Linked DNA regions of Homo sapiens: all the other regions are linked to region 3. The links are contacts of gene promoters, found by promoter capture Hi-C in human tissues and cell types (Jung and others, 2019). All regions are on one chromosome and are shown on one strand. The core of a region is centred on a gene start or on the middle of the fragment in contact, and the rest is flanking DNA. Distances in the headings are between cores, read along the strand shown.

The links. Contacts are between HindIII fragments. The study calls those that stand out against the background at their distance.
Region 1: a contact is called between a fragment that was not itself captured here and the fragment with the promoter of DNM1L in region 3, in 5 of the 25 tissues and cell types used here (H1 embryonic stem cells, IMR-90 fibroblasts, dorsolateral prefrontal cortex and 2 more).
Region 2: a contact is called between a fragment that was not itself captured here and the fragment with the promoter of DNM1L in region 3, in 1 of the 25 tissues and cell types used here (spleen).
Region 4: a contact is called between a fragment that was not itself captured here and the fragment with the promoter of DNM1L in region 3, in 1 of the 25 tissues and cell types used here (hippocampus).

The regions. Positions count from the first base shown.
Region 1 is chr12:32,382,067-32,385,140 of GRCh38, reverse strand. It overlaps BICD1 (BICD cargo adaptor 1), which reads right to left. Exons shown (of 10, transcript NM_001714.4): 10 at 1,508-3,074. Among named protein-coding and RNA genes, the nearest start is that of FGD4, 16 kb to the left of the region's middle. The HindIII fragment of the contact is 5,533 bases long and covers 1-3,074 here.
Region 2 is chr12:32,344,660-32,347,787 of GRCh38, reverse strand. The region is part of intron 8 of BICD1 (BICD cargo adaptor 1); the gene reads right to left. Among named protein-coding and RNA genes, the nearest start is that of FGD4, 53 kb to the left of the region's middle. The HindIII fragment of the contact is 6,116 bases long and covers 1-3,128 here.
Region 3 is chr12:32,677,952-32,680,965 of GRCh38, reverse strand. DNM1L (dynamin 1 like) reads right to left here and starts at 1,665. Exons shown (of 20, transcript NM_012062.5): 1 at 1,501-1,665. The coding sequence starts at 1,602. RefSeq lists a silencer at 1,108-1,517. The HindIII fragment of the contact is 15,512 bases long and covers 1-3,014 here.
Region 4 is chr12:32,201,514-32,204,744 of GRCh38, reverse strand. All of the region lies in intron 1 of BICD1 (BICD cargo adaptor 1), which reads right to left. Among named protein-coding and RNA genes, the nearest start is that of BICD1-AS1, 96 kb to the right of the region's middle. The HindIII fragment of the contact is 5,748 bases long and covers 1-3,231 here.

The sequences.
Region 1 (3,074 bases), core at 103-2,602, 300 kb after region 3:
GGAGGCCGAGGTGGCAGAATCATTTGAGCCCAGGGGGTCGAGGCTGCAGTGAGCCAAGATCATCCCACTGCACTCCTGCCTGGGTGGCAGAGTGAGGCCATGTTTCAAAAGAAAAAAAAAATCCGGCTGGGTGCGGTGGCTCACGCCTGTAATCCCAGCACTTTGGGAGGCCGAGGCGGGTGGATCATGAGGTCAGGAGATGAAGACCATCCTGTCCAACATGGTGAAACCCCGTCTCTACTAAAAATACAAAAATTAGCTGGGCATGGTGGTACGTGCCTGTAATCCCAGCTACTCAGGAGGCTGAGGCACGAAAATAGCTTGAACCAGGAAGTCGGAGGTTGCAGTGAGCCAAGATCATGCCACTGCACTCCAGCCTGGGAGACAGAGCAAGACTCCCTCTTTAAAAAAGAAGAAGAAGAAGAAAGAAGGAAGAAGGAAGAAGAGGAAGAGGAAGAAGAGGAGAAGAGAAGGAGAAGGAGAAGAAGAAAGAAGAAGAAAAGAAGAAGAAGAAGAAGAAGAAGAAGAAGAAGAAGAAGAAGAAGAAGAAGACGGAAATCCCTTCCACAAGTTCCCATCGATTCTGCTCTCTTTCTCATCCCTTGTGGGTTGCAATATAGGCTGTCCAAGTTGCCTGCAAAATGTATAGATGAGAAGAGACTTTCTTGATGCGTCCAGCTGTTTTCACTTTTGAATGTGGCAGACTATCAGCTTTATCATGTAAGAGAAAGTCAAGTATCAAATAGACTTATAGATCCAACCTCCAAGAAAAACAAAAGCTTTTGGAAGAGAAAAAGGAGAAATTTGTAGAAAAGTTTACATTATTATTTCTAGTGTTGTATTTATGCAACAGGTGAGCAGACAGCTTTTGCCAGGATGTTGGCTGCCCGTGTTGCACGAATTTGATTAGCTATAATGAGGATTGCATTAGACGTTTTAACTCACTAGAACACCATGTTCTATCTGCCTCTCCCCCTCCTCCACCCTTTAAATAAAATCGAATCAAAGTGGATGGTTCCCAAAGCAGCTGATTTACTACAATATGTATTTGTAGGAGGAGCTAGAAAATTAACCTCCCTCAAAGTTTTGGAACTCTGCTGTTCCAAAAAGAACAAAGAGGAATTGTCTCCCAAAATAATGCATAGAAACTTCATTCTTCTTTCATCAAAATAATGTTTCCTGTTTTAGGGCAAGCATTTTCTTCATGTTGGTACATTTCTAATCAAATTCAGCCAAGTATATCCTCCTGCCAAAATAGCTTTCTAGAAAAGATTACAAGTAGAAGAGGTGATAACTGGAGGAAATGAGCAGAGTTGATACACATTACTTACCAGGAATGTATAGAATTGTTGTTAAAGCAAAGCATTTAGTTTTTAGTTCAAATAAGTTCTTACTTTGAATAAACATATAGATCACATCTGAATTCATATAGTCTTTTCCTTTTTGTAAGTATACATCAAAATGACATACAGAAAAACTGCTCAAATTGATAAAAAGGCAGCATTAATGAAATGAACAAAAAATAACCAGTTTATTTACTGGAAAAAGTTATGCATTACACCATATTCAGTTGGTAACATAAACCGAGATATAAGAATCGATATATTGGCTTCTGGTTATTTTCTTAGCACTGGAGTGCCTTTTCCAACCATTGAGTGCATGATCAGATTACACAAATACAAGCACATATCATGTGTTCTCCCATGAGACATTATTCACTTAGGATTGTCTACAATAAAAAAAGTTAAAGTACAAGCAATAATAAATTCATAAGAATTTTTTGAATTTAAAATAAATGCATGTGTCTTTGAGAACATTTCTTTTGAAATTCATATTTTTAAAAATAACAAGTTTCTTAAATCAGTCTTTTAGTCGTGTTTTCATATGGTATTTATCAGTAGGTGGAAACACTTCACATCATTTAACCCCAAAAGGCATAATAATTAAACTGCAATTAAATGTAGGAACAGTTGAATCATTACAACAATAATACGGTGTACAAATCAGAGTTGGCCACACAATACACATGTTAATACTGGAAAGAAATACAATATCAGAATCATGGATGGTTCATCACATAAGCATAATCATGCAAATAAAAACAGAGTAGATTATAAAAATGTCATAAGAGATTTTCAAATAGTAATTGTTTGACTCTCATAGTCAAACCATTGAGCTTTAACATTTTGTGGGAATAATGTTAAAATGATGTATTTCCTCTAAGACTGGCTGCACAAATCATACCTATGAACCCAATGAGTCATTCTGTATCTCCATTATCTATCATTGAATAATTATTTTTAAATAAAATGATATTTCCCCTTACTTTATAGTTCTCTCATCTTTGTTTTAAAATGACTTTTTAAAAAGAAAAACATATTTACACTAAGAAGCACCAGATTTACTTCTCGGTGTTTTCATTAGAGAACAATGATTGAGGAATAATTCTGAAAGAAAAAAAGTAAAAAATGTGTTCTCAACAAGTGTTCTACAGCAATTAAACTCCAATCACAGGAATAATCTGGCTCAGCAGTTTATCCAGGCTTCAGCTTAAATAGGGCAAATTTTAAATAACTCGAGAAGGGATAAAAATACACTGAGGATTAGAGCCATGCAGTTCAATATGGAAAGGAGACTAGATATAGATAACAATCTCCTTACTTTCCTAATGGACAGAAGATCACAGAGAAATGAGACTTCTATAGTGTTCATCTTATGAATATGGGAAAGCTTACATGATGTGAAATAATTCATGCAAACATTTTACATTGCATATTTCTATGCACTCTCGCCCTTACACTAAAGGCAGTTAATTGCTCTTCTTCTTCTTAAGTAGAATATTCTGGAAAATTCTCAATTGGGGAACATGTCTTAATACTAAATATCTCTTTCAATTACACTTTGAATAATAAGGACGAAAGACATGTCTAGATGAAATCTTTCAGCTGTAAACATAATACGATCAGGTTACAAACGCAATACATTAGGGACTATGGCAGTTAAGTTCGCATATAAATAAAGATGAACTTAATTTTAGACACAACTCATCCGAGGGCATTATTACAGACAATGGA
Region 2 (3,128 bases), core at 277-2,776, 330 kb after region 3:
CATTATACTGTTTTAAGAATGTTTAAGGAATATGTTTTGTTAGGATATACCTAAGTAATTAAGTTTTTATATTGACAAGGAGATCTAGTAACAAATAAGAGATGTATGAAAAGGGTATATAGGTACAAACTTTTTCTTTTTTTTTAATTGAGATGGCGTTTCGTTCTTGTTGCCCAGGCTGGAGTGCAATGGCGTGATCTCAGCTCACTGCAACCTCCACCTCCTGGGTTCAAGCGATTCTCCTGCCTCAGCCTCCCAAGTAGCTGGGATTACAGGCACGCACCACCATGCCCAGCTAATTTTTGTATTTTTAGTAGAGACGGGGTTTCACCATGTTGGCCAGGATGGTCTCGATCTCTTGACCTTGTGATCTGCCCGCCTCAGCCTCCCAAAGTGCTGGGATTACAGGCATGAGCCACCACGCCTGGCTCAAACATTTAATATGTATCTATTTTAAAAAGCACTGCCACCAATCAGAGACAAAGCAGAATCAGCAAAATAGCACTTTGGTCTATGTCAGTTTAAAAGAAAAATGAGGGCAGGGCGCAGTGGCTCATGCCTGTAATCCCAGCACTTTGGAAGGCTGAGGCAGGAGGATCAACTGAGGTCAGGAATTCAAGACCAGCCTGACCAACATGGAGAAACCCTGTCTCTACTAAAAATACAAAATTAGCCAGGCATGGTGGCACATACCTGTAATCCTAGCTAGTTGGGAGGCTGAGGCAGGAGAATCGCTTGAACCTGGGAGGCGGAGGTTGCGGTGAGGCAATATTGTGCCATTGCACTCCAGCCTGGGCAACAAGAGCAAGATTCTGTCTTAAAAAAAAAAAAAAAGAAAAGAAAAGAAATAAAACCGAAATACATGCCATCTTAAATTTTATTTTAAAATCAGTCATTAGTTATTCAAATTTAGATTTCTGTGTGGAAATTCTATCTAGTTAAAACTAAGAAGTTCTAGAACTGCACCGTCCAACACAGTAGCCCTTAGCGAAATTAGGCTGTTGAGCATTTGAAATGTGGCTAGTTCAAATCAAGATATGCTGTAAGTGCATAATACTGAATTTCAAAGACTGAATAAGAAAAACAGAATGTGTATGTATGTGTATGTGTGTGTGTGCGTGTGTGTGTGTATATATATATATATATATACACGTATATATATATATATATACACGTATATATATATATATATATATATATACACGTATATATATATATATATATATATATATATATATATATATATATATACACGTATATATATATTTTTTTTGACAGGGTCTCACTCTGTCACCCAGGCTGGAAAGAACTAGCACAATCCTGGCTCACTGCAACCTCTGCTTCCTGGGCTCAAGCGATCCCCACACCTTGGCCTCCTGAGTAGGTGGAACTACAGGCATGCACCACCATGCCTGGCTAATTTTTGTAGTTTTTGTAGAGACAGGGTTTCACCATGATGCCCAGGCTGGTCTCGAACTCTTGGCCTCAAGGGATCCACCCACCTCGGCCTCCCAAAGTGGAATTATAGGTGTTAGCCACCTATGAATTCCATGTTGAAATGATCACATTATGGATATAGTGTGTCAATTAAAATCTACTACTAAAATTAAGTTCACTTGTTTCTTTTTATTTATTTTTTGAAACAGGGTCTTGCTCTGTCACCCAGCCTGGAGTGCAGTTGCACGATCATGGCTCACTGCAGCCTCAATCTCCTGGGCTCAAGCAATCCTCCCATCTCAGCCTCCTGAGTAGCTGAGAGTACAGGCGCATGCCACTATGCCCGAATAATCTTTTTATTTTTTGTAGAGACATGGTTTCGCCATGTTGCCCAGGCTGGTCTTGAACTCCTGGGCTCAAGTGATCCTTCATTTTGGCCTCCCAAAGTGCTGGGATTATAGGCGTGAGCCATGGTGCCTGACTTCTTTTTACTTTTTCTAACATGACTACTAGACTACTAGAGAATTTAAATTTACATATATGGTTTATATCATATTTCTATTGAATAGTTCTGAATAGAAACATTCTTGTAGCTGTCATTTTATCATTTGGCAAGAAATATTTCTATTGCACACATAGAAACATTCCAAGCTTTCTTAAAGAGCTCAAGCATGTCTTCCTTCCCCTTCATAACTTCTTCTGACTCAAAAGAAACAAAAAGATAAATGTATAGGAAAGAAGAACCCAGATACATCAAGTGAAAAAAACCGGCATGCATAATGTCTGTGGTTGTGCCAATGGTATTAACACATATGTAAAATGCATATGTTTTTATATATGTATATATTTATATGCATTTCCTTATATATGTATAGAATGTTTCTGGAAAAATACAAAAGGTTGGGTGGGCACAGTTGTGGCAGAAATCTACCATCTACTGTATACCCTTTGTACTTTAAAATTTTTGAACCATTACCTATTGAAAAATATACAGCAAGTATAAAAATGTATTTCTCAACATGTGGTTGACAATTTTGTGAATTAATATATTTTTTCTTCTTTTTTTTTTTTTTTCTGAGACAGGGTCTCACTCCATCACTCGCTGGAGTGCAGTGGCTCACTGCAGCCTCGACCTCCCAGACTCAAGCAATCCTCCCGCCTTAGCCTCCTGAGCAGCTGGGACTATGAGTGCATGCCAGCACATCCAGCTAATTTTTAAATTTTAATGTAGAGACGAGGTCTCGCTATGTTACCCAGGCCAGTCTCGGACTCCTGGGCTCAAGCAATCCTCCTGCTTTGGCCTCCCGAAGTGCTGGGGTGACAGGAATTAACATTTTTGATTTAACTTTTGTTTTGGCAGATTCCAAACTAAAGACAACATGTTCTGACATCAAGAAGTGCCCAGGCCTTCCCCTACAGGGAAGAATTCTGTGGAAACTATGTTCAAAGAAAATACAAGCCTAAGAGATTACAGGTTTCAACAGACTGCCCTTCACTCCTACTAGTTCAAGAATTGAATCCTGTGGAAAAAGACAGTTTAGTGATATGGGGAAGTGGAATACACATAAATAGAAAAGCCTCTATAGGAAAAAATATAAATTATAAAGTACAAAATACTGAGGCCATGAGTTCAAGATTGACTGATCTCCTTCCACATACAGAACATGGAAAGCAGTAAGAGCAGGTCGTGT
Region 3 (3,014 bases), core at 416-2,915:
CTCATGCTTAAAAAGCACTGAGACTCTCTTTTAAAAGTATGTGGAAAGTTTCTAGTGTGCAGCTAGAAGACACTTCTGAATCACTTACTATCAAAGACTTAATTTATATTATCTCTAACTTTTTACAAAAACAGGTTAGTTTTGATGATAAAAGTCCCAGTGTTTTAAAACATTGTGGTTAGAGTGAGCAATATTTACTCAAAATATTTACAGAGCACTTACTATATGTCCCAGACTGAACAAAATTATGTTCAATAAAAAATAATCCTCGTAATTTGTTTGATGCTTCTGAGTCTCCAAACATTACAAATATTGTTACAAATACTAGAATACGTAGGCAAGATTGAGCAGAATCTTTCCCAATCCTATCGCAGACCAAGGAAATGTGTTTCTAAAACAATTTCTATTGCTTCAACTATTTAAAAGCCAAAAAAACAAACAAACAAACAAACGAGTACAGGGTGTCTATAGTTTCCAGTGTTTGGATAGCCACTAATACTTTGAACAGTAAGTTCCTTCTGATAGCACTTATACCCTATACTATGTACCTCCTGGAAAATGATGGGGAAACCGCTCCTTCTCAATAGAAAAGATACTATTAAGAAATGAAAGCACTTAATATCAATATACTAATTTCTAAAATCCGTTTCTCTGAACTCTAATCGAAGTAGCAGAGAAAAGGAAAATTATACTTCTCCTCTGTCACTCTAGAAATAACAGTTATTTTGCCAACATTTCTGCATTCAAAAAAAAATGAGTTAGCTATGAGAAGACCAGAGAAACTGATGCCCAATTTAGGTCACGATCACAAAACTGTGGAAGACAAAAAGCACAGCCTACGCAGAAAAATCGGATATTCCTTCCCAACACCCGCAGAACTCTAGATACACGTTTTGTTTTTCTTTTTTTAAAATGCTGCTTCGGCGTTCTCGAAACCTGGTGGAATTATACTGCAGGAAAACACTGGCGCTCACGCACCGTAGCGTCTCTCAGCCTCAACAGAGCGATTCCAAAACTAACTCCGCAGTCCCTGGGCAAGGCAAGGAGGGAAATAAAACACCCGTCTCACGAAAGCCAACAGTGATGGGAACAGCCAGCCCACCGAGCCCAGCGAGACCCGAGTGCCCCGCGCGTCCCCCAGGTGCCCTTGGAGGCAGCGGCACGCGGACGAGGCCGCGCCCGGTCCCAGCGGACTCCAGTTCCGCCCGCCGGCCCCATCCTTCCCTCTCCTGTCCCCGGGACCCGCCGGGCTAGCCAGGCCCGCCGCGCCGGCTCCGCCCCTGGCCGGGCCCCGGATTCTCCGCCTTGATGCAACGCTGCCCCGGGAGGGCGGGTGCGGCAGAGCCCGGAGAGCCCTGGGGCCCCCAGCAAGGCCCTCCTCCCACAGGCCCCAAAGGCTGGCGCGGGAGTGGGCGCTGGCGCGGGAGTGGGCACTGCCGCAGCACCGACCAGGCCTGCGGCCGGGGTCTGGCCCGAGCGAACGCCGCCTGCTGCTCTCACCTGCGTTCCCACTACGACGATTTGAGGCAGCTGGATGATGTCGGCGCCCACCGTGTTGAAGACGTCCTGGAGCTTGTTTATGACAGGAATTAGCGCCTCCATGACTCTGAAAACACGGGGCCCCAGTGCCCGCCGGCCACGGCAATGAATGGGGCCGGGGCCCACAGTTCGCCTCCTTCCTCCTCTCCTCCGCCCTCTCCTCGGAAGCCGGCACCCATTGGACCGGGCCCGCCGGCTACCTGCCCCCTCCCGGCAGGCCATGCGCTGCGAGGGAGGTGGAGAGGAGCAAGGCCTGCTGGGAGTTGTAGTTCTGGAGCGGAGGAACGCTACTCCCCACAGCTTCCAGGAGGCTGCGCGGCACCGGTGGGCCCTAGCCTGGGACTGGGATGCTGCGCAGGCTCTAGTCAAAGGCTAGGAGCAGGCCGGGAGCGCAGGAGGAAGGCCGTAAATTTATGCCTGTCCTCAAGGCACGATGGATGTGACAGTGCTGGGTGTGAATATGTGTTAAAGGCGCAATGGTGTGTCTCTTAATTATCCAGTGTCACTTCCTTTTATTTATTTTTTATTTATTTATTTTTTTTTTTTTTTTGAGACGGAGTCTCACTCTGTCGCCCAGGCTGGAGTGCAGTGGCGCGATCTCGGCCCACTGCAAATTCCGCCTCCCGGGTTCACGCCATTCTCCTGCCTCAGCCTTCGGAGTAGCTGGGACTACAGGCACCCACCACTACGCCCGGCTAATTTTTTGTATTTTTAGTAGAGACGGGGTTTCACTGTGTTTTCCAGGATGGTCTCGATCTCCGGACCTAGTGATCCACCCGCCTCGGCCTCCCAAAGTGTTGGGATTACAGGCGTGAGCAGTGTGACTTCCTTATGAAGACACTTTCTCTAGAAGGACGGGTTGGAAAGGCTTAAAGAAAAGCTTATGGCCGCAAACAACCAAACTGGGTGCAAAAAAATCTGCACGCTGATACGAGAATGTGTGGGGTGTTATTTTGCAAAAATACAAAAACCAGCCCAGGTTAGAATACGCGGGTTCTCCAGGGGTTTTGTAAACAAACAAACAAACAAACAAAATGTGTGTTCAGGACCGAGCGCGGTGTAATCCCAGCACTTTAGGAAGCAGAAGCAGGAGGATCGCTTGAGCTGGGAGTTCGAGACCAGCCTGGTCAACATAGTGAGACCTCATCTCTACCAAATAAATAAATAAATAAATAAAAAAGCAGGGGTCGGAGCAGCGGGGGGCGGTGTTCATGAAAAAAATCTTAGAGTATTGGAGTTTTACAGGGGAAGAGCTGGGCATTTATTATCAATATTATGTATAAACCTTTATTTGCTGTAGCCTGATTCCTGGCAAAGTAGACATCTGATAACTGCCTTACTCACTCTTTGCTCATACCGTTCTTTTTTTTTTTTGAGACAGAGTCTGACTCTGTCGCCCAGGCTGGAATGCAGTGGCGCAATCTCGGCTCACTGCAGCCTCCTCCTCCCAGGCTGAAGTGATTCTCCTGCCTCAG
Region 4 (3,231 bases), core at 272-2,771, 480 kb after region 3:
TACCATTTGAGAATCACAGGTCTGGGGTAAGGGCCAGGTGTAAGTATTTCCAACATGCTCATTTTGGGATGCTAATATATTATGCCAGGCTTGAGAAGCATTGCTGTGGAGTGTGGGCAGTGTTGTGGATTACACACAGCTTCAACTCTTCCTGACAAGGCTGCAGAGTTCTCCAAAGTGGCTGTACTAATTCAACTGCCACCAGCAGTGTCTAAGGATTCCTGTTTGTGACTCTACATTGTTAGGGTTGTTTGTTAAGACTTAAAAATTTTGGCCGCCCCGGAGAGTGTGAAACAGTATCACCTGGTGCTTCTCATTTGCATTTCCCTGATTACTAATGAAGTTAAGTAGTTTCACATTTTTATTGACCATTCACATTTTCATTTTTTTTTTTTTTTGACAGGGTCTCCTCTGTTGCCCAGGTTAGAGTGCAATGGCATGATCACAGCTCATTGCAACCTCCACCTCCCAGGCTCAGGCAATCTTCCCACCTCAGCCTCCCAAGTAGCTGGGACCACAGATGTCTGCCACCACACCCAGTTAATTTATGCATTTTTTTGTAGAGATGGGGTTTCACCATGTTGCCCAGGCTGGCCTCAAACTCCTGGGCTCAAGCAATCCACCTGTCTAGGCCTCCCAAAATGTTGGGATTACAGGTGTGAGCCACCACGCCCAACCTCACATTTCCACTTCTGTGTAGTTTCTATTCAAGGCTTTTGTTCATTTTTCTCCAGAGTACCTTTTTCCTTTATTAATTTGTCAGTTACATGTATGGCAAGTATCTTCCTCAAGTATTTATGGGTTGTTTCTTAACTCATTTTACAGTGCTTTTGATGAAGAGAAGTCCCACATTCTAAAAGACAGGTTTCTGTTTCCTAATTGTTAGTTACATGTTATTGTGCCAGACCCCTATTGAGTTGGATAGGGATAGCACAGGTTCGAGAGGCCAAAGAAGAGAGGCCAAAGAAGAGACCGAGAGCTGGCAAATGAGATATAGGGCTTCTCGAGGGGACTTACATATGCAGCGGTCCAGTGGTAGCAGGCTGGATGGACGAACCACTACCGTTTCTAAAAAGTATGCAGTTTATATAGCATTTTTACTTAGCTCCCCTCCTGCAACCTTCACCTGGCAACCCTCCTTTAATCCGAAATGGGCCGGGGGTTCAGATGTTCCTCATAGACAAGGAATCAGTCTCCGGGTTGGCCACTACCAGGTTCCTCAGCTGAGAACTCCAAACACACATTCTTCTTAGACCATAGGGTCATTCTCAGGGTATGCTTCGGTTGTTGCTGTCAGGTGTGCCTGCCACACATATGTATGGCACATATTTTCTCCCAGTGTGTGGTTTTTCTCTCCCACTCTTTTAGCGATGTCTTTTGATGAAGTAATTTCCTTGATTTTAAGATGGCTCAATGACCAAACCTTTGCCTTATAGCTAACACTATTTGTAAATCCTTCCCTCCTCCAAGGTCATAAAGCTATTCTCCTATACTATTTCCAAAAGTTTCAAAGTTTTGCCTTTTATAACTTAAGTCCCTTAATCTCCCTGAAATTGATTTTTGTGTATGAAATGAAGTACAGATCCATTTCAATTATTTTCTGAACGAATAATCAATTTCCCATGCACCATTTAATGTATTACCCCCTCCTATCCCACTGATGTCGAGTGCCAGCTTAGCCATAAATCACACTGACGTGAGTGTTTCTGTTTCTAGGCTATCCTATAATGTCCCACTAATGGTCATAAGATATCTAAGTAGGAGCCAGTTCCCCTGAGAAAAAAGGGGTACCTGACATCATCCAAACCTTATTCATTAAGTTATTTTAACTTTGGGCCTGGTGCGGTGGCTCACGCCTATAATCCCAGCATTTGGGGAGGCTGAGGCGGGCAGATCTCTTGAGCCCAGGTGTTCAAGACCAGCCTGGGCAACATGGCGAGACCCCATCTCTACAAAAAATATAAAAATTAGACAGGCATGGTGGTGCACACCTGTAGTTCCAGCTACTTGGGAGGCTGAGATGGGAGGACTGCTTGAGCCTGGAAGGTCGAGGCTGCAGTGAGCCAAGATCACACCACTGTACCCAAGCCTGGGCAACACAGTAAGACCCTGCCTCCAAAATAATAATAAATAAATAAACAATAAACTTTGAAATATCTGCATCATAACTGGACATCATTACTAAGGTATCCTAATGGCAATCTGTAAATGAAAACAATGTTACTTTGTATAAAAGAAGCAAATACATATTGATGAAGCTTAGTCAGGAATATATAAGACCTAGAGTTTTTTCCTTTAAGTAATATATATAATTGTTAAAGAAAATATAGATAACACCAAAAAGCAGAAAAAAATATTACCCCTTGGATTACCTTTTCTCACCTACCCCTGTAATTTGGGCAAGTTCAGGACCTCCAGATTTTTTCCCACAATTGCCTACTGGGCCCCTTGAAGTCCTGAACACTTGTTCTTACTCACCAGGTTTTGGGTCTCAAACTAGGATCTGATCTTGTTTCCTGGTGAATCTGTCTCAACCAAACAGACGCCATCTGCCCAGGCTGGCAGCTGTCCATGCTTCCTCTCTCTAAGTCCTCCCCAGGTTCCTAGTTTTTCTTTTTGTTGGCACAGTGATAAATGTCAGGAAATCTTGGGTTCAAAAATGGTGGGCAACCACTGTTCCATAAGTATTATATATGATCAGTGTTATTTCTGCTGGTTCACATCAGCTTCTTCTGGCTGTGTTAAAAGCTAGTCTCTTATTACTAAAGCCACCAACCAAATACAGACACTTTAAAAATCAGCATACGGAAAGTATATGTGCTCAGCAAGCAGTCTAAGAGGAGATTGCTTGCTTAGCAGAATATGTCTATTCAGAAGCAAAACTTAAAGGCACACATTTTCTGACTATTATAACCCGAAATAAATTCTCCAGATTTTTCAAAGATTGTGTTTTTTTTTTTTAAACAAACACGTATAAAATATAGGTAAACTATTTTTTCTGGGTCTTGGCCAATGAGTGTCTTTATCATTAAAATGTAAATTTTTATTTAAACTTTTTTTCTGGGTCTTGGCCAATGAGTGTCTTTATCATTAAAATGTAAATAAAAGGAAGAAAACTTAAATCATCATAAGTTATATTCTGGGTCCTCAAGTTTGAAAGTAATACATTTCACATTACATTTCCCAATTAAAAATGAAACCTATCCCCAGGAAGAAAAAATAATTTCCCCC